Linked DNA regions of Homo sapiens: regions 2, 3, 4, 5, 6 and 7 are each linked to region 1. The links are contacts of gene promoters, found by promoter capture Hi-C in blood cells and fetal thymus (Javierre and others, 2016). All regions are on one chromosome and are shown on one strand. The core of a region is centred on a gene start or on the middle of the fragment in contact, and the rest is flanking DNA. Distances in the headings are between cores, read along the strand shown.

Region 1 (4,009 bases), core at 294-2,793:
ACAGAGTAGCATTAATGCTCACCACATACATTAGATAAGAACTTCTAGGAAGTCCTCTGTTTCAAAAGCAGATATGATAAAAAAAGGCTTTAAACCTACAGGGTTTGCTCCTCCAGGGCTTCAGATTAGGGCAAATAACGCACTTCTGCCTACCAGCTGTTCAATACTCATCTCCCAACCCAAATCCACAAGTTCCACAAATGCTTTCGAATGCCTGTTGAAAAACATTGTTCAGTCTCATCACATACACACGTTCTACAGATAATTACAACTTCTTGTATGCCTACTTGTAAAACTACTAAGTAGTTCACATTTTAAAAAATTTCCCTAAGAATTTTGCTTCCTTTAAAAAAACTGCTTCTTCGATTCCTAAATCTATAGAACTCACTTTATCACGTCTTCTCGGTTAATCCAAGAATTAAAAAAACCATTTTGCCCATACTGATAACTTTACTACTCTGCAGGATCCGAAAAGCTCTCTATATGCCAGGTTCTAGGATTCACACACATTAACAACCTAAGATCCTTCAAGTGAGATAGCTCTTGCAGTACAGAGCACAGATTCTCAGGGTCGTGGGGGATACCGGCTGAGGCTCTTCAGACCCCCACCACAGGAGTTCCGTCCTCTAAGGGCAACCCCCTCCCCCTTGGCCGCGGCGCGAGTCCAGGCCTCCCGGGCACCTGCGGCCCCTGCCCGCTGCGGGGACCCCCCGAGGAACCAGCCCCCCGCCGGGCCCCAAGGAATCGGCGCCCACTCCCACTCCTGGAGGCCAGTGACTGCAGGCCTAAGCCGCCCGCCGGCCCCGGGACGCGACGTTACCTGTAGGACCACGTCGTTCGGCAGCTGCGCGGCCCGGAACAGCTCCAGCACCCGCCCGTTGACCACCACCTTCTTGGTGCTCTCAATGTCGCAGTAGGAGAAGAGATCTGAATAGTATTTCTGCTCCGCATCGCTCAGCGTTAAGCCTTCCATCTTCGCCTCCGGCTCACGGCCGCCCCGCCCCGCATGCACTACTCGGGGCCCGGCCCCAGGAACCTGGGCCGGCAGGGGCTGCGCGTGGCCCGGCCTCCTGCTAGCTTCCCGAAAACGCCGGCCCCGGCCTCACACGCGCCAGGTGCGCCCGAGCAACAGGGCCCGGAGGTCGCGAGGAGGGGGCCCGGCTGCGCTCGCCGCGCCGCTGCCTGCGAGGCCCGGCGCGCGGCTGCGGCTGCGGCTGCGACTACGGCTCCGGCTCCGGCTCCGGCTCCGGCCGCGGGGAGGGTGCAGAGAAAGAGGCGGGGGCCGCGGAGGCGCGAGGCACTGGCGGACTCCGCCCCCGCCGCGGGTTCGAGTCTCCCCGGCTCCCTGCCGATTCCCCCAGACTTCCCGCCTCGGCTTCCCCTTCCGTCCACGCCTCCGGAGCGGCAGCGCTTCCCGGAAAGTTGTGGGGCTTCGAACCTAAAGTTTCGGGGGATCTGGGCTGAGCGTGGCCGCCGCTCCGCCTCCCTCCGCCGCCATTTACAGTGCCCCGGCCCGGCCCCGACGCGCCCGCACCAACAGTGACAGCGGCGGCCGCGCTCCAGACCCGGATGTGAGGCCGGGAGGAGAGAGCGCGAGAGGGAGAGAGAAACACCCACCGGGCTGGCTTGGCCGCTCCCGGGAGAGGGAGGAGGCCGCAGCGCCCCCTGGTGGCCGGCGCCCGGCGGCGGGATGACCGAGCCGCCCTCTGCGCGGAGATCTCAGCAGCAAGACCCCCGGAAAGGGGGGTGCAGTGGGAAACAGCCGGCAGCTCATTAAGACCGAGATAACTAAGATCCGGGTTGCAGTTTTTATGTTTCGCAGTTTCTGGTCCTAAGCGTCTGAATAATTGGATTGAAAGGGGAGCCTTGTTCAGGTTATTATCATTCTATCTGTACCTTTTCGGTACAGATGAAGATAAATGCAGTATTTCCATCTGTTCTGAAGGGCTATGAACATCCGGGCTATGAACATCCTGGCTATCCGGGAAGCCTCCACGTAGACACCAACATTGAGGCTTCATCTCACTCGTGCTTCAAGCCATGTTTACCTGAGAAACAAAATGTGCTGAATAGAGGGGAAAACTGGCAAAGTTGTCCTCTTTGTTCACCAGGTCATTCCGGTCACTGGGAACTTAATACTCTACATTTATACCTTCAACTCTATCAACTCATGTAGGCCCGGGGCTGCCCACAGGGGCTGCCTTCCGTATTTTCTCCTTTATGAAAATCATGGAGTGGCGCTCTTTTAATCTGCACCTGTCCCAGAGAGGGGATTCTTCAGCTATTTCAAGTAGAATATCTTAAGAATTTATACTTAGCAAATATAAAATACTTCAAAGACGGGAGCTAAGGCAGAATTACCCAGAGTTCTGGTTTTTATTTTGTCTTCTACAAGTTGTTTCCCAGAGTGCGGATCCTATAAATGACACATATGAGGAAATTATTACAGGTTCCCAGTCATTTATCTGTAATTGCAAAATTCAAAGCGCACTGAAAACCCAAAGACTTTTTTTTGTAACCCTTTGGAAGTAAAACCTGCCCTGCCTCATTTGGAGGCAAAATCTAAACTAAGCTTGCATGAAGCTATTTCTAGCCTTTATGGATCCCACTTAGTGTCAATATTTACTCATTTCACTCCAGGTCTTTGTAGAATGTTAATATGTACACAGTCACAGGCATTCTATTATCTTTCTATTTTTTAAGAAAGATAAGGGATTTTAGACCTGTCAATGTCTTCTGACTTGACTAGTAGTATTTGATAAAGGTAAGTATATACTATCCATTAAGCTTATTTCCCATCTCTAAGACTTTCAGTTTGCTACAGCAGCCCCTCATGTGTCCTTTCAGGGCACCTGCAGCAAGTGATCAGACCCCCCCCAGACAGCTGCCTTCCAAAGGTGTAAACAGAAAGAGCACAATGGGGTAGGGATTGGCTCACAATTGTCTTTGCATCTTTTTCTCTGCCACCTCTCCTAGGCCTTGCAGCTCTTGTCGGCCCCAGGGCCTTTGTTCCTGCCATCTAAAATAGTCCTTCCACAAACCATGGCATGGCGTATTCTCTCATATGGTTTCAGGTCCCTGCTCATATGTCACCTCCTCAGAGCAGCCTTCCTGCAACAGCTGCTGTAAAATAATCCCACCATGCACTATCCCCTTATCTGAATTCCTTTTTTTTCTCTTTTGAGACAGAGTCTCCCACTGTCACCCAGGCTGGAGTGCAGTGGCATAATCTTGGCTCACTGTAGCTTCGACCTCCCAGGCTCAGGTGATTCTCCCACCTCAGCCTCCCAGGTAGCTGGGACCACAGGCCCAGGCCACCATGCCCACCTAAATTTTGTGTATGTGGCTTTTGTAGAGACAGAGTTTTGCCATGTTACCCAGGCTGGTCTCAAACTCTTGGGCTCACCCACCTCAGCCTCCCAAAGCGCTGGGATTACAGGCATGAGCCACTGCACCCAACCTGAATTCTTTTTCTTTATAACACTTTTCACTATCTGACATTACATATATAGCTGTTACATTTTTAACGGCTAATTATTGAATAATTACTAAGTTTCAGGCATTGTTCTAAAGCTTTACACTAATAACCACATTATTCACAACAACCCTATTAAGTGGTACTACTAGGTTTTTTTTTTTTTTTGACAGATTAGGAAACTGAGGCAAAATGGGTTAAGTATTGTGTAAGTCATGTTGCTATTAAATACCCGGATCTGGGATTCAAACTCCAGGCTGTCTCAACTCTAAAAATCACTACCCTATCTTGCCTGTCTAATTTCTTTGTTAAGTTTGTTATTAAGAAAATATTTCTTCACCAGGCATGGTGGCTTATGCCTGTAATCCCAGCACTTTGGGAGGCTGAGGTGGGTGGATTGCTTGAGCTAAGGAGTTCAAGACCAGGCTGGGTAACACGGTGAAACACCATCTCCACCAAAAATACAAAAATAGCCAGGCATGATGGTGTGCACCTGTGGTCCCAACTACTCGGGAGGCTGAGGTGGGAGGATCA
Region 2 (3,705 bases), core at 263-2,762, 330 kb after region 1:
AGTAAAAAAAAAGTTATTAAAAATACATTTCTACTACTTTATAAATATTTAGCTTATGGCCATATATATATAAATAACTGAAATATCTCTTAATTTGTAGTGGTTATTGAATATGTATTTTATATCTTGTTTTAAATTATAATTTGTTAAAGTTATTAAAATCCAATGTGGTATTAAATTATTAACTCTTTAAAATAAATATTAGTGCCTGGTTTCTAACTTCTCTTTCCCTTAAATAAAAGTTACTTAAGTAACTTCTAAGTGGTGACTAAGCCTATATGTTTTCTAAAATTTTGTATGACACATAGGTCCTAATTCATCAATTTGGGAGTAGACAATTACATTATATTCTTACTCATATTATCGATTTTGAGCACTAATCTATTCTTCCTTTAGGTTTCTGTTTCCAAATAATTTCTGGAAACCACAAGGAATATTTACAAAATCAGTGAGACAATTGCCTTCCTTGCTAGCTCGTTATGAGTTGATATTTTCAGTCCTAGAGGAACACAACTGTTGCCAGTGAACTCAAGTTTCCTTCACTAAAATATTACCATCACCAAAAATCCAAATTCATGGGACTGGGTTGGAGACGAGACACTGGAAATCAAATGGGTTCCTTTTTATTTCGATTATCATTTACTTAATTTGTAAAACTCCACTTTTGGGGAATTTTCTGTAGGCAGAAAATTTTCTAAGCATATAATCTCATTTTTTTTTTTTACCAACCTAGAGGTGAGCAGTGTGATTGTTCCCATTTTCAAAAGACAAATCTGTGGCAGAGACAAGTTATCAACTTGCTCAAGACTTTCTAGCTCTGCACTGGTACAGACATGATTCTCACTCAACAAGGTGACTTCAGAGTCTATATCTCTCCCATGCTACATAGGCACAAGTCATTGGGTAACACTTCTAAGAAAGCTCTTCTGCCCTTTCCCACTTTCTCCTTCTTCTTACCTGAAGCAGATGTATTTGTTAGAGCTACAGTGGCCATATTCCACTCTAAGGCAACTGTGAAGATGAAAGCCATGGGCTTGGGACAGCACAGCAGAGAAGTAAAAGGAACCTAGATCCCTGTTAATGTCATGCACCTGCTTGCTAGGCCTGAAATACTCACCTCCAGACATCCATGTTCTTTCAGACACTATTATTTGGGTTTTCTACCTTATCCAATGGATTGAATCCTGATACTAGCCTGTCAGTGTAGAAGTGCCCCGGGGTTCCGTCACTGGACCTTGCTATTGTCTGAATGTTGGTGTCCCCTACAAAATTCAGGTGTTGTAATTCTAACCCCCAAGATGATGGCATTAGGAGATGGGGCCTTTTGGAGGTGAATGGGTCATGAAGGTAGAGCCTTCATGAATGGGATTCGTGCCCTTACAAAAGAGGCTCCAGAGAGTTGCCTTGTGCCTTCTACCATATGAAGATAAAGTGAGAAGTCACCATCTGTGAATCAGAAAATGGGCTCTGACCAGATACTGAATCTGCTGATGTCTTGATCTTGGGTCTCCCGGCCTCCAGAACTATAAGAAGTACATTTCAGTTGTTTATAAAATACCCAGTCTATGGTACTTTGTTATAGCAGCCCACATGGGCTATGACTGAGCTCTCCTTTTTTTTTTTTTTTTTAATCTATGGAGACTTCATATACAGAGACTTCTGAAAACTTTTACATTTATGTCTCTAGCCCAGACTACTCTCTCTTTTTTTTTTTTTTTTTTTTTTGAGATGGAGTCTGTTGCCCAGGCTGGAGTGCAGTGGCACAATCTTGGCCCACTGCAAGCTCCACCTCCCGGGTTCACACCATTCTCCTGCCTCAACCTCTCAAGTAGCTGGGACTACAGTTTCCCACCACCACGCCTGGCTAATTTTTTTGTATTTTTAGTAGAGACAGGGTTTCATTGTGTTAGCCAGGATGGTCTCGATCTCCTGACCTCGTGATCCGCCTGCCTCGGTCTCCCAAAGTGCTGGGATTACAGGCATGAGCCACTGCGCCCAGCCTCTCAGACTACTCTCTTGAACTACAGATTCATTAATTTTTTTTTTTTTAAGATAGGCAGAGTTTTACTATGTTGCCCAGGCTGGAGTGCAGTAGCTATTCACAGGCACCATCATAGCACATTAAAGCCTTGCACTCCTGGCCTCCAGCAATCGTCCCACTTCATCCTTCTGAGCTGCGACTACAGGTGCACCACCATGCCTGACTTCACAGCCTATTGACATCTCTGCTTCGGCATTATCACTGCTGGGTTGCACTGCTATAACAGAATACCACAGAGTGGGTAATTTATAAAGAACAGGCATTTATTTCACACCGTCCTGGAGGCTGAGAAGATCAAGATCAACACCCTGGCATCTGATGAGGGCTTTCTTGTTGCATCCTCACATGGCAGAAGGTAGAAGGGCAAGGGTTGGGGGGACAAGTGTTGTGTCCTCACACTGGCAGAAGAGCAGAAGAGAGTGAACCCACTCCTGCCAGCCCTTTCCATAGTGACATTAATCCATTATTAATCCATTCATAAAAGCAGAGCCTTCATGAACTAAACACCTCCCATTAGGCCCCACCTCCCTTCTAAAGAAATTCCTCCTCCAGTCTTCCCCATTATAGAAAATGGCAACTCCATCCTTTAGTTACTCAGATCAAAAATTTGGACTCATGCCTGACTCCTCTCTTCCTTTTCCATCCCACATCTGATCCAACACAAAAGTCCCATTAGTTCTATCCTCAATACGGTGCAGAGTTCAACCACCTCTCATCCAAATTATCTTAGTAACAACTGCCTTCCCGGCCACTCCCCTAAAATATCGATGCCTCCCCAGCCCAGCTTTATATCCCCCTTGTTCCTTCTTTTTCTGTAGAAAAAACACACTGCACATTTTCTGTACATTTTACTTATTTGCTGTGTTTATTCTTTGTCTCCTCCTCTTGCCTGTATGTTGCATGGGGGCAGGCATTTTCGCTGGGTTTTCCCTGCTGTTGAATCCCCCATAAACAGATGCTAATTGAATAGTGGCTTCCCCAGGACAGAGGCCCATGGGGCTATCAATTTTCTAAATGTCCATTTCCCTAAATCCCTTTATCTCTTTTGGATCTGTCCTCATTTTAAAATAAGAAACTAGCATTTCTGTGAACTGACTAGGAATAATTTCAATTGTCATTTCAGTAAGAAGTTTCATTTTGGACCAGTGACTATGATTATCCTTCCTTAAATACATAGGAAATCATTTTGTTGGTGTTGACATTGCACGAGATGAAGAAGGGATGGGGCTCAGTGTGTGGTTTGGGCTCTTTTGTTTGCAAGAAACCTCTAGAGATGTATTATAGTGACCCCAAGAAAAAGAATTTGTTTAGTTTTTTTTTTTTTTTTTTGAAACGGAGTCTCGCTCTGTCGCCTAGGCTGGAGTGCAATGGCATGATCAAGGCTCACTGCAATCTCCGCCTCCCGAGTTCAAGCAATTCTCCTGCCTCAGCCTCCCGAGTAACTGGGACTACAGGTGCGTGCCACCACGCCCAGCTAATTTTTTGTATTTTTAGTAGAGACGGGGGTTTCACAGTATTAGCCAGGATGGTCTCGATCTCCTGACCTCGTGATCCGCCCGCCTCGGCCTCCCAGAGTGCTGGGATTACAGGCGTGAGCCACCGCGCCCAGGCTTGTTTAGTTTTTTTATTTACTTATATAATAATAAAGAAACATGTGGACCTGG
Region 3 (3,979 bases), core at 970-3,469, 350 kb after region 1:
GTTTGGTCAGGCCGGCCTCGAACTCCTGACCTCAGGTGATCCGCCAGCCTGGACCTCCCAAAGTGCTGGGATTACAGGCGTGAGCTGCCGCACCCGGCCCTGTGTTTCTTTTCTGTTTGACAATCTCTGACTTTTAATTGAGATGTTTTGACAAAGTTATATTTAATGTGATAATTGATAGATTCAAGTCTGTCATCTTGCCATTTGTTTTCTGTTTGACCCATCTCTTCTTTTTCTTCCCTTTTCCTCATGTCTTTGGTTGAAGAACTTCCTTTGATATTTCTTTTTTTTTTTTTTTTTTTTTTTTTTTTTTTTTTTTGTGGTGAGATGGAGTCTCACTCTGTTGCCAGGCTGGAGTGCAGTGGCGTGATCTCAGCTAACTGCAATCTCCGACTCCCGTGTTCAAGCGATTCTCCTGCCTAAGCCTCCTGAGTAGCTGGGATTACAGGTGCGCACCACCAAGCCCAGCTAATTTTTGTGTTTTTAGTAGAGATGGGGTTTCACTATGTTGGCCAGGATAGTCTTGATTGCCTGACCTTGTGATCCACCCACCTTGGCCTCCCAAAGCACTGGGATTACGGGCATGAGCCACTACGCCCAGCCTGACATTTCTTATAGAGCAAGTCTGTTGCTGATAAATATTTTCAGCTTTTGTATATGTGAAAGAGTCTTTATTTCACCTTAGTTCTTGAAACATATTTTGCTTGGTATAAAATTCTAGTTTGACAGTTTAATAATTTTTTTGTCAGTACATTAAAGATGTTGTGTGTCACTGTCTTCTCACTTGCATTTTTTCTTATACGAGATCTGCTATAGTTCTTATCTTTGTTTCCCTAAATATATTGTGATGTTTTTCTCTGCTTTACAATGTTCTATCACTTGTTTAGGAAAATTTAATTATGATGTGCCTTAGTGTCGTTTTCTTCACATTTCTTGTGCTTTGGGTTCATTGGGCTTCTTGAATATGTAGATTTATGCTTTTCATTAAATTTGGAAAATTATTGGCCATTATTTCTTCCCATTTTTTTCTGTTACCCTCTCTCTTCTTTTTCAGTGACTTCTATTACATGTATATTAGGCATCTTGAAGTTTTCCACAGCACAGTGATACATGGTTTTTTAAATGTTTATTCTTTCTCTGTTTAATTTTAGATAATTTCTATTGCTATGTCTTCATATACACATATACACTAATCTTTTCTTCTGCAATTTCTAATCTATTTCTTAAACTCCTTATATATATATATATTTTTTTTCTTTGAGACGGAGTCTCGCTGTGTCGCCCAGGCTGGAGTGCAGTGGTGTGATCTCAGCTCACTACAAGCTCTGCCTCCTGGGTTCATGCCATTCTTCTGCCTCAGCCTCCCGAGTAGCTGGGACTACAGGTGCCCACCACCACACTCGGCTAATTTTTTGTATTTTTAGTGGAGACAAGGTTTCACCATGTTAGCCAGGATGGTCTAGATCTCCTGACCTCATGATCCACCTGCCTTGGCCTCCCAAAGTGCTGGGATTACAGGCTTAAGCCACCACACCTGACCCCTTAAATATATTTTTAGGCTGGGCGTGGTGGCTCACACCTGTAATCCCACCACTTTGGCAGGTTGAGGCAGGAGGATTGCCCAGGAGTTTGAGACCAGCCTGGGCAACAAAGTGAGACCCATCTCTACAATTTTTTTTTTTTTTTTTGAGACAGAGTCTTGTTCTGTTGCCCAGGCTGGAGTGCAATGGCACAATCTCGGCTCACTGCCACCTCTGCCTCCCTGGTTCAAGTGATTCTTCTGCCTCAGCCTCCTGCATAGCTGGTATTACAGGCGCTTGCCACCATGCCTGGCTAATTTTGTATTTTTGGTAGAGACAGGGTTTCACAATGTTGGCCAAGTTGGTCTTGAACTCCTGCCCTCAGTTGATCCACACACCTCAGCCTCCCAAAGTGCTGGGATTACAGGCATGAGCCACTGTGCCTGTAATTTTTTTTAATTAGCTGGGCATGGTGACATGTGACTGTGGTACCAGCTACATGGGAGGTTGAGGTGGGATGATTGTTTGAGCTTGGGAGGTTGAGGTTGCAGTGAGCCATGATTGTGCCACTATACTCCAGCCTGGGTGACAGAGTGAGATCTTGTCTCAAAAATATATATATTGTATATATAGTGGTAAAAGAATCTACATAAAATTTGCCATTTTATCCATTTTTATGTGTGCAGTACAATGGTGTTAAGTATAATCACATTATTGTGAAACATCTAATTTGCTTCTAATTTCATCCAATGAATTTTTCATCTCATTTCTAAAATTTTCATCACTAGAATTTGATTTAGGTCTCCTCTATATCTTTCATGTCTTTACTTAACTTTTGATCATTTGAAAAACAGTTACAATAAGTGTTTTAATGTCCTTGTCTGCTAATTCTAACATCTAGGTGGTTTTCAATTGACTGACTTTTCTCTTCATTAAGGGTGGTGTTTTGCTTCCTTCATGACTGGTGATCTTTTATTTTCTTTCTTTAAATTGTGTTTTATTAGATTTGAGATCCTGATGTATGGTAATCCTTGATTGAATGCTGGGCATTATAGATTTTTTCCTTGTTTGGTGCTGGATAGTTTCATATTCCTAAAAAGACTCTTGGTCTCTTCTTGGATGGTAGATTGGAGACATTGTCAGCATGCTTCTCCTCCTTGGAAAGACACAATAGTGTGTAGTGTTTCACACTGTGAATTTTTCTCCAAGAAGCAACACAGGAACTAAACAGGAAAACTGAAAGAAACCACAGGCCCTTTGAAAGAAGTGGTGGGCTGCAGCCTACACCATGAGTCAGGTGAAAAACTAAGTCTGCAGAATCTGAAGGGGGATAAACTGCCTCCAGGAAATACACTCCCACTGGGGAACCAGTTAATCCAGTCCATGGGGGAAGGCCTTAACCCTACTGAGTGCTGGCATTGATTTAGGGATTGATGTGGCATATAAAAGCAGGGGCAGCAGTGGGAAGAGCCTTGTGTGCATTCCCAGTCTTCAGCACAGACTAAGGGAAGTGATTTTTGGTCCTACCTCACAAGGGACTTCCCAGAAGTCTGCCAACTAACTCAAGTGGTGGTTGCACGTTGAGAGAAGCTCCTAGCTGAAATTCATGATATAATTTCAAGTGGGGACAGACTCCCTTGGCCAGAACTGGGGGCAAGTGGGAAGTGTGCTATAGCCACAAGTACAGGAGCTGGGACTGGGAGGAGCATGTCCTGAAAGCAGCTGTTGCTGTCTCCACAGGGAAGGCTTATGGGCTGGGGCAGTTTTGAGTTTTAAGTGCAGATTGCCTGGAACTTAGCTAGCTGATGCTAGTGTAACACTGCAAGTATGAGAGACCTGCCTTTCTTTTTTCTTTTCTTTTTTCTTTTTTTTTTTTTTGAGACGGGGTCTCACTCTTTCTCCCAGGATGGAGTGCAGTGGAGTGATCTTGGCTTACTATAACCTCCGCCTCCTGGGATCAAGCAATTCTCCTGCTTTAGCCTCCCAGGTACCTGGGATTACAGGCATGTGCCATCATGCCCGGCTAAGTTTTGTATTTTTTGTAGAGATGGGGTTTCACCATGTTGGCCAGGATGGTCTCAATCTCCTGACCTCGTGATCTGCCTGCCTCGGCCTCCCAAAGTGTTGAGATTACAGGCATGAGCACCGCGCCTGGCCTGCGACCTGCCACCTGCCTTTCTAAGCGTGTGGGAGCTGGGTAGGCTTACTGTTGCCTGCTATTCCCCACTCCCTGTGAAACTCTTCTGTGCAACACAGGCAGCTGCACTGCTTCCTGGAATATTACCGGAGCAGCCGGAGAACTGGCCCCCAGCTCCTACTGGGGTTATTTGCCCTGCATGTGGAGAGCCAGAGCATGGACCTGCCTGACCCAGCCCCCACCTGGCTTTGCTCCACCACTTGCCCTGGTAGCTTAACACAAGGGACAGAAACTTTTGGGAGCTCTATGGACCCACCCATTG
Region 4 (3,814 bases), core at 258-2,757, 370 kb after region 1:
TAGCTGAGTGAGTTCTCACGAGATCTGATGGTTCTCTCTGCCACCATGTGAAGAAGGACGTGTTTGCTTCCTCTTCTGCCATGATTGTAAGTTTCCTGAGGCCTCCACAGCCATGCTGAACTATGAGTCAATTAAATCTCTTTCCTGTATAAATTACCCAGTCTTGGGTATATCTTCTTAGCAGTGTGAATACAGATGAACAGAGTGTGTATTCTCCCACACTCACTTCTTTCACACGGCTGGAAGTATGGCTAACAGCAGTTTACAGGCTCATAGTTTCATCACTAAAGAGGACTTAAAACTTGATCTCTCTGTTGTCAAGTTAAAAGCTCCTGGGGGAGGGGGAGGAATGCAAATTAAAACCACAGTGCAATACCACCTTACTCCTTCAAGAATGGCCATTATTAAAAAGTCAAAAGCAACAGATATTGCTATGGATATGGGGAAAAAGGAACTTTTATGCAGTGCTGATGGGAATGTAAATTAGTACAACCTCTATGGAAAACAGTATGGAGATTCCTTAAAGAACTAAAAGTAGATCTACCATTTGATCCAGCAACCCTACTACTGAGTATCTACCCAGAGGAAAAAAAGTCATTACATGAAAATAATCTTTGCACGTGCATGTTTATAGCAGCCCAATTCACAATTGCAAAGATGTGGAACTAGCCTAAGTGCCCTTTGACTAATGAGTGGATAAAGCAAATGTGGTATATATACACCATGGAATACTACTCAGCCATTAAAAGGAATGAAATAATGTCTTTGCAGCAACTTGGATGAAGCTGGAGGCCATTATTCTAAGTGAAGTAACTTGGGAGTGGAAAACCAAAAACCATGTGTTCTCATTGATAAGTGGAAGCTGAGCTGTGAGTACGCAAAGGCATACAGAGTGATATATTGGACTATAGGTACTCAGAACAGGAAAGGTGGAAGGGGGGTTAGGGATAAAAAACTACACATTAGGTACAACGTACACTACATGGGTGATGGGAGCACTAAAATCTCAATTCACTGCTACATAATTCATCTGTGCAACAAAAAACTATTTGTGCCCCCAAAATTACTAAAATGAAGAAGAAAGGAAGAAAGCTAACTCCTGTGGGAAGGTTTCTGTTGGGTCAGTGTTATCCACAGACCAATTAGCTGCAGCCAGAGGGTAAGATGAAAGTGTGATGAATGTTTCAACTGGGCCCATCTGGGCACCCCTAGCCATTCACTGTGCCCAGGGCACATAGGATTATGGGAATTTTCACATGGACGTATGTAACTAAAGTGAAAAAGTGGCATTTTGTGGAAGGGTAGGACAAGCAATGAGTAGACAGAACAGAAGATGTTCACGGCCATATATTAGAGTTTTCTTATCTTCCGTGTTTGAATCTTGTCAGGCTGTTTTTATATTCTTTTTGGCTTTGTCATACGGACCAGTGCATTTATTATGGAAATAGATTATATAGCTATCAGTAATTTGTTCATAAATATTAGATTCTGTTCATTTTGCACAGAGATTAATCACCTGCCAAAATGTACATGATTTTCTTGGTGCAGAAAAATTACTTATTAGTCATATTAACAAGGGAATATCAAACATATTTTGAAGGGCTAGAAATGAAGACATAATGACCATATACTTCTTTTTAATAGAATATTTATTTATATTAACAAATGTTGCTTTATAGAAGACATTTCAACCTTAATCAAGTAAACCCTCTCTGAGTGATTTATGATATAATTTTGTTAGCTATATATGTCTTTATTATATGAAGAAGATTTGGAAAAAAAAAAAACTTTAAAAAGAGTCCCTGTCAATTACAGCTTAAAATCTATGCCTTGAAACAGAAATTTTAGAAAAGGTCTGCTTCGCTGTTAACTCTTCTGGTGATGGAGTTGTCAGTTTAATATCCATTTCACACCGAGGTGATTAAGTCAATTGTGATAATTCCACCCCATGGTAAAACCAATCCCAGTGGTTGGTTGGTTCAGAAATTGGTCCATGACATGATACATGAAGAAAAGGATGGTTCTGGAGAAAGTTTTCTTTTCCCTACTTGTCACGTGAGCTCTGCTCATGCCACCTGTCACCGGTCCACGGTGCGGCCAACACTGACGACAGCCCAGGAGAGAGATGAGAGAAGCCTGAGTCTTTGTGGACATTATTGATCAGTGAATTAATCAACCCTGAAGCCTGCCCTTGCCTTCTTGACTTTTGACAGATAATAAATGTATTTCTCATGGTTTAAGCCAGAATCAGGATTTCTATTATTTGCAGCTAAAAATTTCTTAATAGATATGATTGCAAAGTAGAAGAGAGAAACTTATTATCAAATAATTGTAATACTGTGTACGTAATCCATACAAACAGAGGTATTTATAAGGTATAGGGGTGCTGCAAAGTAGGGAGGTATATGAGGAAGTTTCTCAGAGAAGAAGATACTTAAGGTGGGTATTGAAGGACATTTCAGCAAAGGAATGAAGATGAGGAAGTGCCTTTTGGGCAGAGGGAGCAGCATGTGCAAAAGCACAGAGTAATAAAATAGATATTCTCAAAATCCCTCAAGTTAGACAAATTACAAAAGGCATAGACACATCTTACAGGAACTGTGGGTATGGTGGGTGCTAATCAGGAAACCAGGAAGTTGCCCGGGACAGATGTGTCTTCCCTCTCCATCTATCTTGATTTAGCACCAGATGGTCTCTTACTATTGCTTTGTTCAGGCAATGTGTTCCACTCTCCCGCTGACTTCTGCAAACCAGTTTCTCTGCTCTTCAGTATGAGTGCATGGCTTCCAGAGGACATTACAGGGTCAATATTAGATAATTTCACTAAAAACACCTCCATGCTTTCTTTGACTATAGTTTCTCTGTCTCTTTGTTGGAGTTTTCCCGGCCAGCCAATGTGCTAGCCTTTCCTGACAGCTACTTGCCCATAGTCCAATCTGCTGTATCATTGGGAGACAGGGTCATTATGGTATAAACATGGCTGCCCAGATTCACCATTTCAGTTGGCCTGAGCTAGTGCAAGGACTTTGCTCCATAGCGTATAATACCTGGGGGTTCCACAGGGAAGATGCTACAGATGCTGGCACTCGACAGCTGGACCCTGGAAGCACCTGGAGGCAGTCGATAGTGGCTATCACCTGGGAACCTTGGCTGCTGCTGCTGGTGGACGCACCTACACATGGCTTTTCCCTGTGGCATGGCTTCCTTACAGCATGGCCGTGTCAGGGTAGCTGGACTTCTTATATTGTAGCCCAGAGCTCCAGAGGCGTGTGTCCCAAGAGAACCAAGGGGAAGCTATGCGGTGTTTTCTTATTCAGTCTTGAAAGTTACACAGGAAGAGAGTCCATAAGTGAACCTCAGATTCAGGGAAGAGGCCTAATGCTGTTTTGATGAGATGAGTGTCAAAAAATTTACAGGCAGTTTTTGTTTGTTTGTTTGTTTGAGACGGAGTCTCGCTCTGTCACCCAGGCTGGAGTGCAGTGGTGCGATCCGGGCTCACTGCAAGCTCCGCCTCCCGGGTTCACGCCATTCTCCTGCCTCAGCCTCCTGAGTAGCTGGGACTACAGGCGCCCGCCACCACGCCCGGCTAATTTTTTGTATTTTTAGTAGAGATGAGGTTTCACCGTGTTATCCAGGATGGTCTTGATTTCCTGACCTCGTGATCTGCCCGCCTCGGCCTCCCAAAGTGCTGGGATTACAGGGGTGAGCCACCGTGCCGGGCCTTTACAGAGTTTGAAACACCCTTGGCAGTGCTCTGGGGAAAAGTTGATCAGGATTAAAGGGATAGGGCATGCCATGGGGAAAAGCTGGAGAC
Region 5 (3,839 bases), core at 857-3,356, 310 kb after region 1:
TTCAATTTCCTACTCCATAGAATGGGGACTACTTATTGTATATGATTGTTATGAAATTAACATAGTAAATGTGGTTTAATACAAACACATAATCTTTTTAATTAATTCCAATAATTATGTGTTTAAATAAAGCCTGTGAATGGGAATTAATATTTTCTACACCAATAACATTTTCAAATTGTTGCTGCCTAGGACCAAGTTGAAGGAATCTATTGTATCATCTCTTGGTTGTGGTATTTATATTCTTGACCTAGGCTAGATCTGGCTTGGGGTGGTGGGGGCGCATCATTCTATACTGCTTCTACTCAGCAGACATCACCTTTGTCTTTCTAAAATGGAGGGAAATGTGGGCTTGTAATCAAACAGAGATTATTTTGTATTAATCCAAATACAAAACCAAACAGCAAGTTACAATATTCAATTCCCATGGTGACAACTCTTTAATTTGTACTAAAAGTGAAATATGATTCCCACCCTGTGAAAAGAATTGTTTTATCACTTGTCAGCAAAATTAGGCAAGCAAATATTATTTCTAGTAAAGAGCAGATGGACTTGCATAAATAAAATAAATAGTTTGAAATTTGTATAAATATTGGGTGCTACACTTGTACTTGCAAAGAGCCCCACCTCTTAAGTAGCCTTATTACTCTTACATTTTTATATTAACAATTTCATCATGAAAGTCTTCTTATAAATAATGCAGACAGATTCTAGGATAGGCTCCTTTATACCAATTCTCTGTTGAATTCAAATTAATATGACATTGCTGCATGCATTCTACAGGGGACATTTGGCTCATGTCAATATTTGCTTCAAGGAAGATCAGAATAAGGTGTGTTATTTTGCAGGAATATTGGACCTCCCCATCTTTGAAGAGCTCTTCCTTATCCCATTGCTGGATGTAGTAGAGATTCAGAAGCATAGAACTGCATGTTGACTTGTTCATGCAGAGTGTCCCCTGAGGGTAGAGTTGGATTTTAGTGGCTACTATGGGCTGCAGCAATGACATTCCCCTAAAGCAGACTCCACTGTTGCAACCCCTGCATGCCAGCAAGAGGATGTGAAGGTCAAGTGATTGGTCCTGATTAAAGTATGTGATATAGTTTGGATATTTGTCCCCTCAGAGTCTCATGTAGAAATTTGATCCCCAGTGTTGGAGGTGGAGGCTTTTGGGTCATGGAGGCAGATCTCTCATGAATGGCTAGGTGCGAGTCTCTTGGAATCAAGTTCTTGCTCAATTAGTTTCCACAAGAACTGATTGCTAAAAAGCACCTGGTACCTTCCTCCATGTTCTCTCCTTCTTCCTCCCTCTTGCCATGTGATGCCTGCTCCCCTTCACCTTCCACCATGAGTGGAAACTTCCTGAAACTCTCCCCAGAAGGAGATGCTGGCACCATGCGTCTTATGCAGCCTGCAATACTGTGAACCAAATAAATATCTTCTTTAAATAAACAACCCAGCCTCAGGTGTCCCTTTATTGAAACACAAACAGACTAAGACAATCTGTGTTGCCATTGGCTTGTTCCCATTGGCTGGCCCCTGGCTGCTCCTGGGGAGGGGAGGGATTGCCTTGTTGCTGCACATGGGTAAGAAAGCCCAGCTGGCGTGTGAATATTCAACAACCCTGGGAACAAAAGTTGCTGAACTCGAAGGGCTCATGTCACCCTTTTTGTGGCATTCTGCTTCCTTTGGCTCATGTTCCCTGTAAGAAACTTGGGAAACATATCCCATCTGAAAGAACTCTGGCCACAAGATACCCAAACAAACCTTACTAATGGCAAGAAGAAGGCAATAATGCAGATTAACTGAAATGTCAACTGTTAATAGTCCCAACTTTGAAGTCCTCAGGCCACCCATGGTTTTGGACTGGGACCTCCTGGACAGGGATGTTTCTTCCTTCCCTCCCCTCTTCTCATTCCTCCTTGTCCTAGGGTTTGCCAGCTATCGTGGGGTCTGCAGAATCTTGGTGAGGGAAGGGACCTCACAGATCATCTCCCCACTTGGGGAGATGCCTGGCTGAGATGCCTTGTTACCTAACTCCAGGGGTCACTGTTCAAACAAAATAGATGTGGGACCCCCTGGGTTTGTGGAACATAGTGTTCCTAGACTCAACTTGGGACCTTGATACTAGACAGGACTTAGAGGTCCTGTCTAGAGCCACCCTGATCTGTCCTTAGGTAGATGACATTTGATGAAAAAAAAAATGGCTCTTTTAAATAAGACAGTACTACTTGCCAATAGTTAAGTCTCCAAAGATGATAGATCCATGATGTTTTACCATACAAGCACTGTGACTCCTTTCAGAGGTTTGATAAAAGCATCCCTTTCAAATAGCCTTTTTGAGGTTTTCTAACTAACTAACTATAAGGTTCATTTTTCTCTTCTCTGTCTAGTATGACAAGTTCTTTTGATTCCCCTCCCTAAGGGTCAGAAGTTCTTCTCTCCCTTACGTGAGTGTCATGAAGCCCCTCCTCCCCTGCTGATCACAAAGCAATTCTCAGGAAGGGTCTAAGGTTGAACTTGTGTTGAAAGGAAAGCCTGTCATTTTGATGTGTTAGAAAACAGGTGTGTGGTGGTCACCTAGTTCTGAGCTGGTGGACACTCCTCTCCTTCCTTCTTGCAATGCAGTTCTTATCAAAGAGCATGGACTAATTTTTAAATTCTATGTGTGGTCTTTTTCTCTGTAACAATTTGGTGTGGCTTTGATAGGATGTAGAACAACGCAACCTGGGAACAGCAGAGATGGTCAACAGGATTGGGACTGAGTGAGCAAATGCTTAGACTCCTGCTACCTTGCCTCTTTATCTTCCCAATTATGTCTCTTTTTTCCCTCCCTTTCATGGTGAGGGGATGCCTAGGCTAATTGTCCATTGATAGGCTTAAAGGGAGCCCATTACCTGAACCTGTCTGCCTTTCGAAAGGCTTTCAGAGCCTTTCTGCTCCTAATGTATCTTATATGACTCCTTTGTCCTTAGAAGAGAACTTCAGCTGGGTGCGGTGGCTCACGCCTGTAATCCCAGCACTTTGGGAGGCTGACGTGGTGGATCACAAGGCCAGGGGTTCGAGACCAGCCTGACCAACATGGTGAAACTGCGTCTCTACTAAAAATACAAAAATTAGCCAGCGTGGTGGCACGCGGCTGTAATCCCAGCTACTCAGGAGGCTGAAGCAGGAGAATCACTTGAATCAGGGAGGCGGAGGTTGCAGTGAGCCGAGATTGCACCACTGTGCTCCAGCATGGGTGACACAGCGAGACTCCATCTCAAAAAAAAAGGGAATAACTTCCCTTGTGTGTTCCTTAATTCAAGCTCAAGGACTACAAAGGAAGCACCACATCTCTTCTATTCTTCTTTAAACTGTTTCAGGGCCCCCATTCTGTATAAATTTGGAATTGTGCCAGTTAGGAGCCCAAACTGTAGATGGATCCTGGCTGAGATGCCTTGTTACCTAACTCCAGGGGTCACTGTTCAAACAAAATAGATGTGGGACCCCCTGAGTTTGTGGAACATAGAGTTCCTAGACTCAACTTGGGACCTTGATACCAGAAACTATGGCTAGGCGAAATCATGGTCTCTGTGGAAAGGACAAACTCCTAGTTGTCTTTCTCATATATACCCAAGAGAGGTTGCAAAATCATTAAAAAATATGAAGGAAAAATTGCAGGGAAATTTTCTTGGGTATCTGTATAGTGCCACCAAATACAAAAGATGACATCTTAGATGACCTTATTAGGGTGAAAATATTACTATTATTAAAAGTAATAATACCTGCTACTGGTGACATGAGTGTGTGAGTAAGCCTCTGCAACCTCCATTGTCCCCTGAGTTCCAAAGCTACCT
Region 6 (4,073 bases), core at 285-2,784, 390 kb after region 1:
AGGTGGGAGAATTGCTTAAGCCCAGAAGTTTGAGACCAGCCTAGGCAATATGGCAAAACCCCAGACTCTACAAAAAATATGAAAAGTAGCTGAGCATGGTGGTGCATGACTGTAGTTCCAGCATCTCAGGAAGCCGCGAAGCTGAGGTGGGAGCATTACTTGAGCCCAGGAGGTCAAGGCTGCAGGTCGAGGTCGAGGTCGTGCCACTGCACTCCAGCCTGGGTGACAGAGCAAGACCTTGTCTCAAAAAAAATAAAACCCAAAAAACAAAACAACAAAATGAAACAAAACCCCAAAGCTCACTTAATCCTCAATGTAAGGAGTAGGGATTACTTTCATCACTTTAGTAAGGAGGACTTTGAGTCTCAGAGAATCTTTTAAAAATAAAAATAAAAACAATGAAAAACATGGCCACCTTCTCAGAAGGAGAGGAATAGGGAAAAGAGGAGAGAGGTAGCCAGAGAGTCTGTTAACACATGATTTAATAGTGACAGAGGCCCTATATGCAACCTGGTGTTATCTGCAAACTGAATAATGTCTTACATGTAGTATATATGTCAAACTGAGATGTGAATATCACTTTTAAACATGTAAACTTGGTTCTAACTCATAAAATACAAATTCACTTGAAATTATTACCAAACTCATAATAGTTTTTCTGTCTTTAGGTATTTTTTCATTCAAGAGAAATATAGCCATTATCACGTAGAGGTCAATGAAATGTTTGTATTAAAGGGTCTTTAAATTGATGAAGTTGGTACTATCCCGCTTGAGAATTTGATTAAAATAAATATTTTAGGATGTCATTCCTGGAGTTCTTGATTCATCAGGCTGGGAGTGGGGCCTGAGGAGCTGTATATTTTTTAAAAGCTCCCGGTTGGTTCTGATATTTAGCTAGGTTTGCAAACAGCCAACCTTGTTTATAGGTTGATGACAACTGGGGTCATTCTCACAGGGTTCATGGGTGTACTGTGAACCTGGTTCACACTCATAATGTCCAGTTTCCCTGGACTGCCACCCGTTTCCTCTCCGCCTCCCGCCCATGACTGGAATTTTGCCTGTCTTTGAAGGCCCAGCTCAGATGACATTTCCTCTTTTTTAGCCTCCCCTGATCCCCTAGATGGCAAGAATTCTGGCTCGTTGGTGCTTCCAGGGCAATTTACTCAGATCTTCTTTTTTGACCTATTCTGACTTGAGTTATGGGTATTTGTATTCTTCTGTAACCTTCTCTGTGATGGCAGAGGTTCCCAGGTGAGCTCCAAGGGGCTGCAAAATGTCGTGCACAGAATAAGGTCAACCTTCGACAGATGCCTCTCGACTTACCATGGGGTCATGCTCTGATAAACCCCGTTCTATAAGTTGAAAACATCATCTGTGAAACCATCATAAGCCAGGAGCATGTGTATAAGTTTGCTAGTGCTGCTAGGGCTGCCATAACAAAATATCAGCCTGGGAGGCCTAAATAACAGAAATGTATTTCCTCATAGTTGTGGAGGCTGAAAGTCCATGATCAAAGTGTCAGGACCCCTCTCCTTGGCTTGCAGATGGCTGCTTCTGGTGTGTCTTCACATGGTCTTTCCTCTGTGCACAGGAAACCCTGGTGTCTCTTTCGTGTGTCCAAATTTCCTCTTCTTATGAGGACATCAGTCAGATTGGATTAGGACCCTCCCTAATGTCCTCATTTTAACTGAATCACCTCTTTAAAGACCTTATCTCTAGTTATGGTTACATTCTTAGATACCGGGAGTTAGCTGTCAGCAGAGGAATTTGGGTGGGGGTACAATTCAGCCTATATAACACACGTCACATATAGATTCTTTTTTAGATAATTGGCATTTTCTTAGTCTGCAGCTTTAACAATAAGCTAGAGAACATTCACATTGGTTTTGAAGTTGGATGAGGTATGTTGGAAAGCAGAAGAAAAATTCAGTGACCTTAAATAATTAGAAAAACACTCTATCAAAAACAAGATTATGTTCAATAAGAAAAACTGCAGAGGCTTCACGAGGACAATAACAAATTACATGGGTATTGGATGGGAAATTATTGAGTAGATATAACAAGTTCAGCCAAAAACCAAACCAAAACAAAACTGCGGGTCCTCCTAAGCTATTGGTTGAATCAGAGGCAGCCACGGAATGCTGTTATTGAAAAGGACACAACTCGGAGTATATCAGGAGTGAGAATCACATGACAGAGCTGGAAGTAATCCTTTTGCTACACTGGGCTCTTCTGAGAGATCATGGTTAGTTTGCAACTTTACCTTTTAATAAAGAGTTACCAAAACCAAAGAAAGTTCATTGAAAAAAAAAAAAGGAAATATATTTTTAAAGGGACGGGAAATGGGACTTATAATGGCTATTTAATCTGGGGAAGAAAAAGCTGACAGGTGACTTAATACATATGTTCTGGTCTACATAGAGGAAAACTAATATGGTGGATCCTTTCCAGATGTTTTCCTTTTCCACTGAGACAAAGAAAAAAGGAAGGCGTTTTTAAAAAGAGAGCTTTAGATCAGTGGTTTCCAAATTTGTGTTCTGTAGATGTTGTGTATTCTCAGCTTCACTTTTAAGTGCTTTATATATTAAGGGTTTCTGTTTGTTTTAAAAACATATTGTTCTGATGTTAAACAGTTATGAAAACTAATGCTTTGGATAATACATAAAAATCATAGAATTCTAGTGTGGGTAGGACTTTTAAAAATAATCTTATCCAAACTCCTTCCTTTTCTAGATGAGAAATCTGAGGTCCTGAGAGGTTAAGTGACTTGCTCATAAAGGACTTCCTAACCATCAGGATTTAAAAACACTGGTATGGATTATCGGAGCAGACCAAGTCTTTATGAAGACTTCACTGAAGTGAAATAGAGATGTGTTGAGTGGTTTTTTAGATCAGCGTTTCCCAGCTGATGTTCTATATTATAGGTGGATAGGATTGCAGAAGACAGTAATAGAATCTATATCAATTTCTACTTTTAAAACAGTGGGAATTAAAATCATTTAAAAGTAGTTTTCCAGTTCAAAATGGAAGTTTGGGGCTGGGTGCAGTGGCTCACGTCTTTAATCCCAGCACTTTGGGAGGCTGAGGCAAGAGGATGGCTTGAGCCCAGGAGTTTGAGACCATCCTGGGCAACATGGAGAGACTTTGTTTCTACAAAAAAAAATTTGAGGCTGGGCACGGTGGCTCACACCTGTAATCTCAGAACTTTGGGAGGCTGAGGCGGGTGGATCACAAGGTCAGGAGATCGAGACCATCCTGGTTAACATGGTGAAACCTGGTCTCTACTAAAAATACACAAAATTAGCCAGGCGTGGTGGCGCACACCTGTGGTCCCAGCTACTTGGGAGGCTGAGGCAGGAGAATCACTTGAATCCAGGAGGCGGAGGTTGCAGTGAGCCAAGATCACGTCACTGCACTCCAGCCTGGTGACAGAGCAAGATTCCATCTCAAAAAAAAAAAAAAAAAGAAATTTTAAACTTAGCCAGACATGGTGGCACACACTTGTAATCCCAGCTACTTGAGAGGCTGAGGCGTGAGGATCACTTGAGCCCAGGAGCTTGAGGCTGCCATGAGCTGTGATTGTGCCACTGCACTCCAGCCTGGATGACAGAACGAAACCCTGTCTCAAAACAATAACAAAACAAAAAAACCCCAGCAAGATGGAAGTTTGAGAGTCTCTGAGTTGTGCTGAGTGAGCCCACAGAGCTGGTTGTAGACATCTGATGACAAGCATTAAGTAATGTAGTTACTCTCTCAGCTAAATACTCATGTCAGAGTGGTTGTTGCACTATTTAACAACTTTAAGTTGCTTTTAATTCTTTTACACATACGGATTTTTTTTTTTTTAAAGATAGAAGACTAATGGTCCTGAATAAAATAAACCTGTGAGAAATATAATTGTGATAATTTTTTTTTTGAGATAGGGTCTCACTGTGACGTCCAGGCTGGAGTGCAGTGATGTGGCCATAGCTCATGTAACCTTAAACTCCTGGACTCAAGTGGTCCTCTCACCTTGGCCTCCCAAAGCACTGAGATTACAGGCATGACCATGGTGCCCAGCCGAATTGTGATAA
Region 7 (3,592 bases), core at 831-3,330, 400 kb before region 1:
GTCTCCATTCAAATAAGCAAATGTTTATTGGGTCCTGTATCACTTAACTACTGCTGCCTCCCAAACTCCTGCAAAACCCAATGGCTTAAAGCAGTCATCAGTTACAATTTCTCACAAGCTAGTGGGTCATCTGCAGGGCAGTGAATCTCGGCTGAACTCGGCTGAAGGTGGCTTTGCTCCAAGGTGGCTCTCCCCGTGTGCCTGAAAATGAGGAATTTCCTGGGACATGGAACTGCAGTTTTAAAATGGGGGCAGTCCTGGGTACAAAGGATGGCTGGTCACCTTGGCGGTGACCTCCAGGTGTCCCTTCCCCTCCTAGGACTAGCAGGCCAGTCCAAGCCTGTCTTTTCCATGGCAATGGCACCAGAGAGCACAAGCTCAGCTGCAGAAGCTTCCTAGGCAGGAGGGCTGCTCACTTTCCACTGGCCAAAGCAGGTCATGTGCCTAAGCCCAGCATCATGGGGAAGGGAAATAACTCCACTCGCCCAAGGAAGTGGGGGCAGGGGGTGAATATTTCTGAATCTCATCTACCACAGGCACCTACTTGGGCAAGTTACCAAGGGTTAAAGGCTCCAAAAACACCATTCCTGACCTCAGGGATTGGGCTATGTGAGGTACCCCTGCTATGTGTTCCCGTAACACCCCACGCAGAGAGATGCTGCGCTTCACCCGTCACATCTGAAATTATGCATTTGCCATTCCAGACTGTAAACCACCCAAGAGAAAGAACTGAGGCTTCTGTCACTGTGTGCCCAGGACCCGGCATACAGTAAGCACTAAACTGATGTTTGTTAAACTGCACTGGTCCATCATATGCTGTTCATCGTCATGTTCAACTCTCTCCTGACAGATGAACTCAAGTTTCTTTACTGGACCTCCTTTGATATTCCCCCACATAATCTAATCTGGCTTGATTAGATACAGAGCCAGAGAGCATATATTTTAAGGCTTTGTCAACTCTATAGTCCCCACTGCAACAACTCAATCTGCCATATGAGGGAGGCCAAGGTGGGAGGATCACTTGAGGCCAGGAGTAGGAGAGCAGCCTGGACAACAAAGTAAGACACTCCCCACACCCCACCTCCCACCTCGTCTCTACAAAAAATAAAATGAGCTGGATGCGGTGGTGCTCGCCTATAGTCCCAGCTACTCAGGAAGCTGAGGCAGGAAGATCATGTGAGCCTAGGAGTTTGAGGCTGCAGTGAGTTATGAATGCACCACTGCACTCCAGCCTGGGCAACAGAGCAAGATTTTATCTCAAGTAAATAAATAAATAAAATAATATTAAAAACCTTCCACTGACTCTGCAACTAAAGGAACCATAGACTTGGTATCTCTTATAAACTAATTCACCTGATCCTTTTCCTACAACCTTGTTTGTGTAATTAAATGAACACTTCACAGCTGGATATATCTAAAAATTGATCTCTATTGCAAATTTGATTAAGGGCATAGCTGTTTGTGTTTCTCTCACATACTGTGTATTAAAATTTCACTCTTTTAAAACTTAAAAAATTTAAGATGACTTTATCTTTGTATGTTTTTCTCTTCAGCTCTACACTTTTTTACAGCCATGTGCACGGCCAACTCTCCCGACAGTCATCAAAATCCATAAGTAGAAGGGCTATTTAGTGAAGGGGAATCCAATTTCATAATGACTACTTCAGTGGTCCCTGTGCAATTACTTTTGTTACAGTCTTAAAGTAATGAACTTATTCAATAAGGAGAAATGTAGAGAACAAAAGGCCTAAAGAACACTTAAGACACTCAGACACTCGGAAATTTGAGGTTGAAACACTTGTTCCCCAGGACCAAAACTGGGTGTGTTAAATCAAGACAACTTCTATTACCATGAAGATATGCCACCACGAAGAACTTCAAAGAAGGACGAAGTACCTCTACAAAGTAAACACCACGCCCTTTCCACTGATGGCAGACTGAAGTGGACTGATGGAGACTGGCGAGCACAGACGGAGACATTTGTTCCAGAGATTCTCCTTCCTAATCGTCCTCCTCCCAGCCCAGCCACGCAGGCATTTCCCTGAAACACAGGAAGAACTACAACAGAGCTGCCGCAAAATGCACCTGTGTGGGTAAGGACCACAGGGCCTTAACAGCTGTACTCACCCTTGGCTCTCATTTCTCTCCTTGAACCCCGGCATGCTACAGACACCCGGGCCTTTATTTCTTAGAGTTGTTATGAAAACTAAGTGAGAAACGCACATTATTAGCACTCAGTAACTGATAGGTTATTTTCAGCAACAGCAGGAGCAGTCCTTGAAATAGATGTGGCTGGTGGACCAGCACAGATGATTGGCTAGGCTGGAAGCAGATGATTAGTTACACCTGGTGTGTACAGGGAGCGAGAGGTGAGCTGGGATTGAGAGTCAGATTCCCATCAGGAAAATATTTCCCATCAGGGAGATATTTCACTCATGCCAGAATTATGAGGAAAAGAAGTGAGCACCCAAGTCTCACCTGTAATAATACGATTCTAAAAGTGACCAACTTGTGTCATTTCACCTACTTGTGAGGCATATTTTTCTTCACTAAAGGATGTGAGGCAAGGAATGGTTCAAAGAAGAGTGTGAAATTCCGACAAGTTAAAGGAAATTACTACAAAAATAGCACAAATATAGCTACCTTACCTCATAAGGAATGTCAGTTATTTTAAACGACTGAAAAATTTTAAAAAATTGAAAACTCCAAATTTGGTCAAACTTCTCTCTCTCTTATGTTCCATCCTAAAGTTTGTTTCACTGGTAATTTTTCTAAGGAAAAAAAAAAGTGAACACAGAAGAAAAATACCAGGCACTGAATCGCTCCATAAAATACACACCACTGGTTACAGTTGATAAGAAAATGCTTAGTTAAAAGTGAGTTACATTTCAAAATAGGGGGAAAAGGCAAGGAATGTTAGCTCACACCTATAATCCCAGCGCTTTGGGAGGCTGAGGTGGGAGGACTGCTTGAGGCCAGAAGCTCAAGACCAGGGAAACACGGCAAGTCCCAGTCTCTACAAAAAAAAAAAAAACTTAAAAATTAGCTGGGTGTGGTGGTGAATGCCTATAGTTCCAGCTACAAGGGAGCCAGAGACAGGAGGATCACTTGAGCCCAGGAGTTCAAGGTTGCAGTGGAGCTGTGATTGTGCCACTGCACTCTAGCCTGGGCAACAGAGCAAGACCCCAACTCTAAAAACAAAAACAAATAAATAAGAAGAAAAAGTTAATAGTGTCAAAACCTTTTTTTTTTTTTTAGATGGAGTCTTGCTCTTGCCCAGGCTGGAGTGCAGTGGTGCAATCTTGGCTCACTGCAACCTCCACTATCCAGGTTCAAGAGATTCTCCTGCCTCATCCTCCCAAATAGCTGGAATTACAGGCACCTACCACAACATCCAGCTAATTTTTGTATTTTTAGTAATGACAGGGTTTCACCATGTTGACCAGTCTGGTCTCGAACTCCTGATCTCAAGTGATCTGCCCACCTTGGCCTCCCAAAGAGCTGGGATTACAGGCATAAGCCATTGTGCCCAGCCCAAAATCTTTAATTTATAACATAGTCCAACATCAGTTATTCAGCACATAGGGAATTA

What was found. The method cuts DNA at HindIII sites, captures the fragments that hold promoters and counts their contacts. A CHiCAGO score of 5 or more calls a contact.
Region 2: a fragment that was not itself captured here is called in contact with the fragment with the promoter of REPS1 in region 1 in 3 of 17 cell types (fetal thymus, total CD8 T cells and naive CD8 T cells); the score reaches 5.8 in fetal thymus.
Region 3: a fragment that was not itself captured here is called in contact with the fragment with the promoter of REPS1 in region 1 in 7 of 17 cell types (naive CD4 T cells, total CD4 T cells, non-activated CD4 T cells and 4 more); the score reaches 6.4 in naive CD4 T cells.
Region 4: a fragment that was not itself captured here is called in contact with the fragment with the promoter of REPS1 in region 1 in 12 of 17 cell types (naive CD4 T cells, total CD8 T cells, total CD4 T cells and 9 more); the score reaches 16.9 in naive CD4 T cells.
Region 5: a contact is called between a fragment that was not itself captured here and the fragment with the promoter of REPS1 in region 1, in 3 of 17 cell types (fetal thymus, naive CD4 T cells and non-activated CD4 T cells). The highest score is 7.4, in fetal thymus.
Region 6: a contact is called between a fragment that was not itself captured here and the fragment with the promoter of REPS1 in region 1, in 3 of 17 cell types (fetal thymus, total CD8 T cells and non-activated CD4 T cells). The highest score is 7.8, in fetal thymus.
Region 7: a contact is called between a fragment that was not itself captured here and the fragment with the promoter of REPS1 in region 1, in 1 of 17 cell types (megakaryocytes). The highest score is 5.9, in megakaryocytes.

What each region holds. Positions count from the first base shown.
Region 1 is chr6:138,986,710-138,990,718 of GRCh38, forward strand. REPS1 (RALBP1 associated Eps domain containing 1) reads right to left here and starts at 1,544. Exons shown (of 20, transcript NM_001286611.2): 1 at 821-1,544. The coding sequence starts at 973. RefSeq lists silencers at 1,046-1,345, 1,536-1,775. The HindIII fragment of the contact is 2,634 bases long and covers 1-2,570 here.
Region 2 is chr6:139,319,931-139,323,635 of GRCh38, forward strand. It overlaps a transcript of TXLNB not described here. Among named protein-coding and RNA genes, the nearest start is that of TXLNB, 30 kb to the left of the region's middle. The HindIII fragment of the contact is 5,074 bases long and covers 1-3,705 here.
Region 3 is chr6:139,340,308-139,344,286 of GRCh38, forward strand. No RefSeq gene overlaps it. Among named protein-coding and RNA genes, the nearest start is that of CITED2, 32 kb to the right of the region's middle. The HindIII fragment of the contact is 6,456 bases long and covers 1-3,979 here.
Region 4 is chr6:139,358,734-139,362,547 of GRCh38, forward strand. No RefSeq gene overlaps it. Among named protein-coding and RNA genes, the nearest start is that of CITED2, 14 kb to the right of the region's middle. The HindIII fragment of the contact is 9,947 bases long and covers 1-3,814 here.
Region 5 is chr6:139,297,631-139,301,469 of GRCh38, forward strand. All of the region lies in intron 4 of LOC102723690 (a long non-coding RNA gene), which reads left to right. It also overlaps a transcript of TXLNB not described here. Among named protein-coding and RNA genes, the nearest start is that of TXLNB, 7.6 kb to the left of the region's middle. The HindIII fragment of the contact is 6,162 bases long and covers 1-3,839 here.
Region 6 is chr6:139,379,248-139,383,320 of GRCh38, forward strand. No RefSeq gene overlaps it. Among named protein-coding and RNA genes, the nearest start is that of CITED2, 6.6 kb to the left of the region's middle. The HindIII fragment of the contact is 6,226 bases long and covers 1-4,073 here.
Region 7 is chr6:138,582,860-138,586,451 of GRCh38, forward strand. It overlaps a transcript of NHSL1 not described here. Among named protein-coding and RNA genes, the nearest start is that of NHSL1, 85 kb to the left of the region's middle. The HindIII fragment of the contact is 3,383 bases long and covers 390-3,592 here.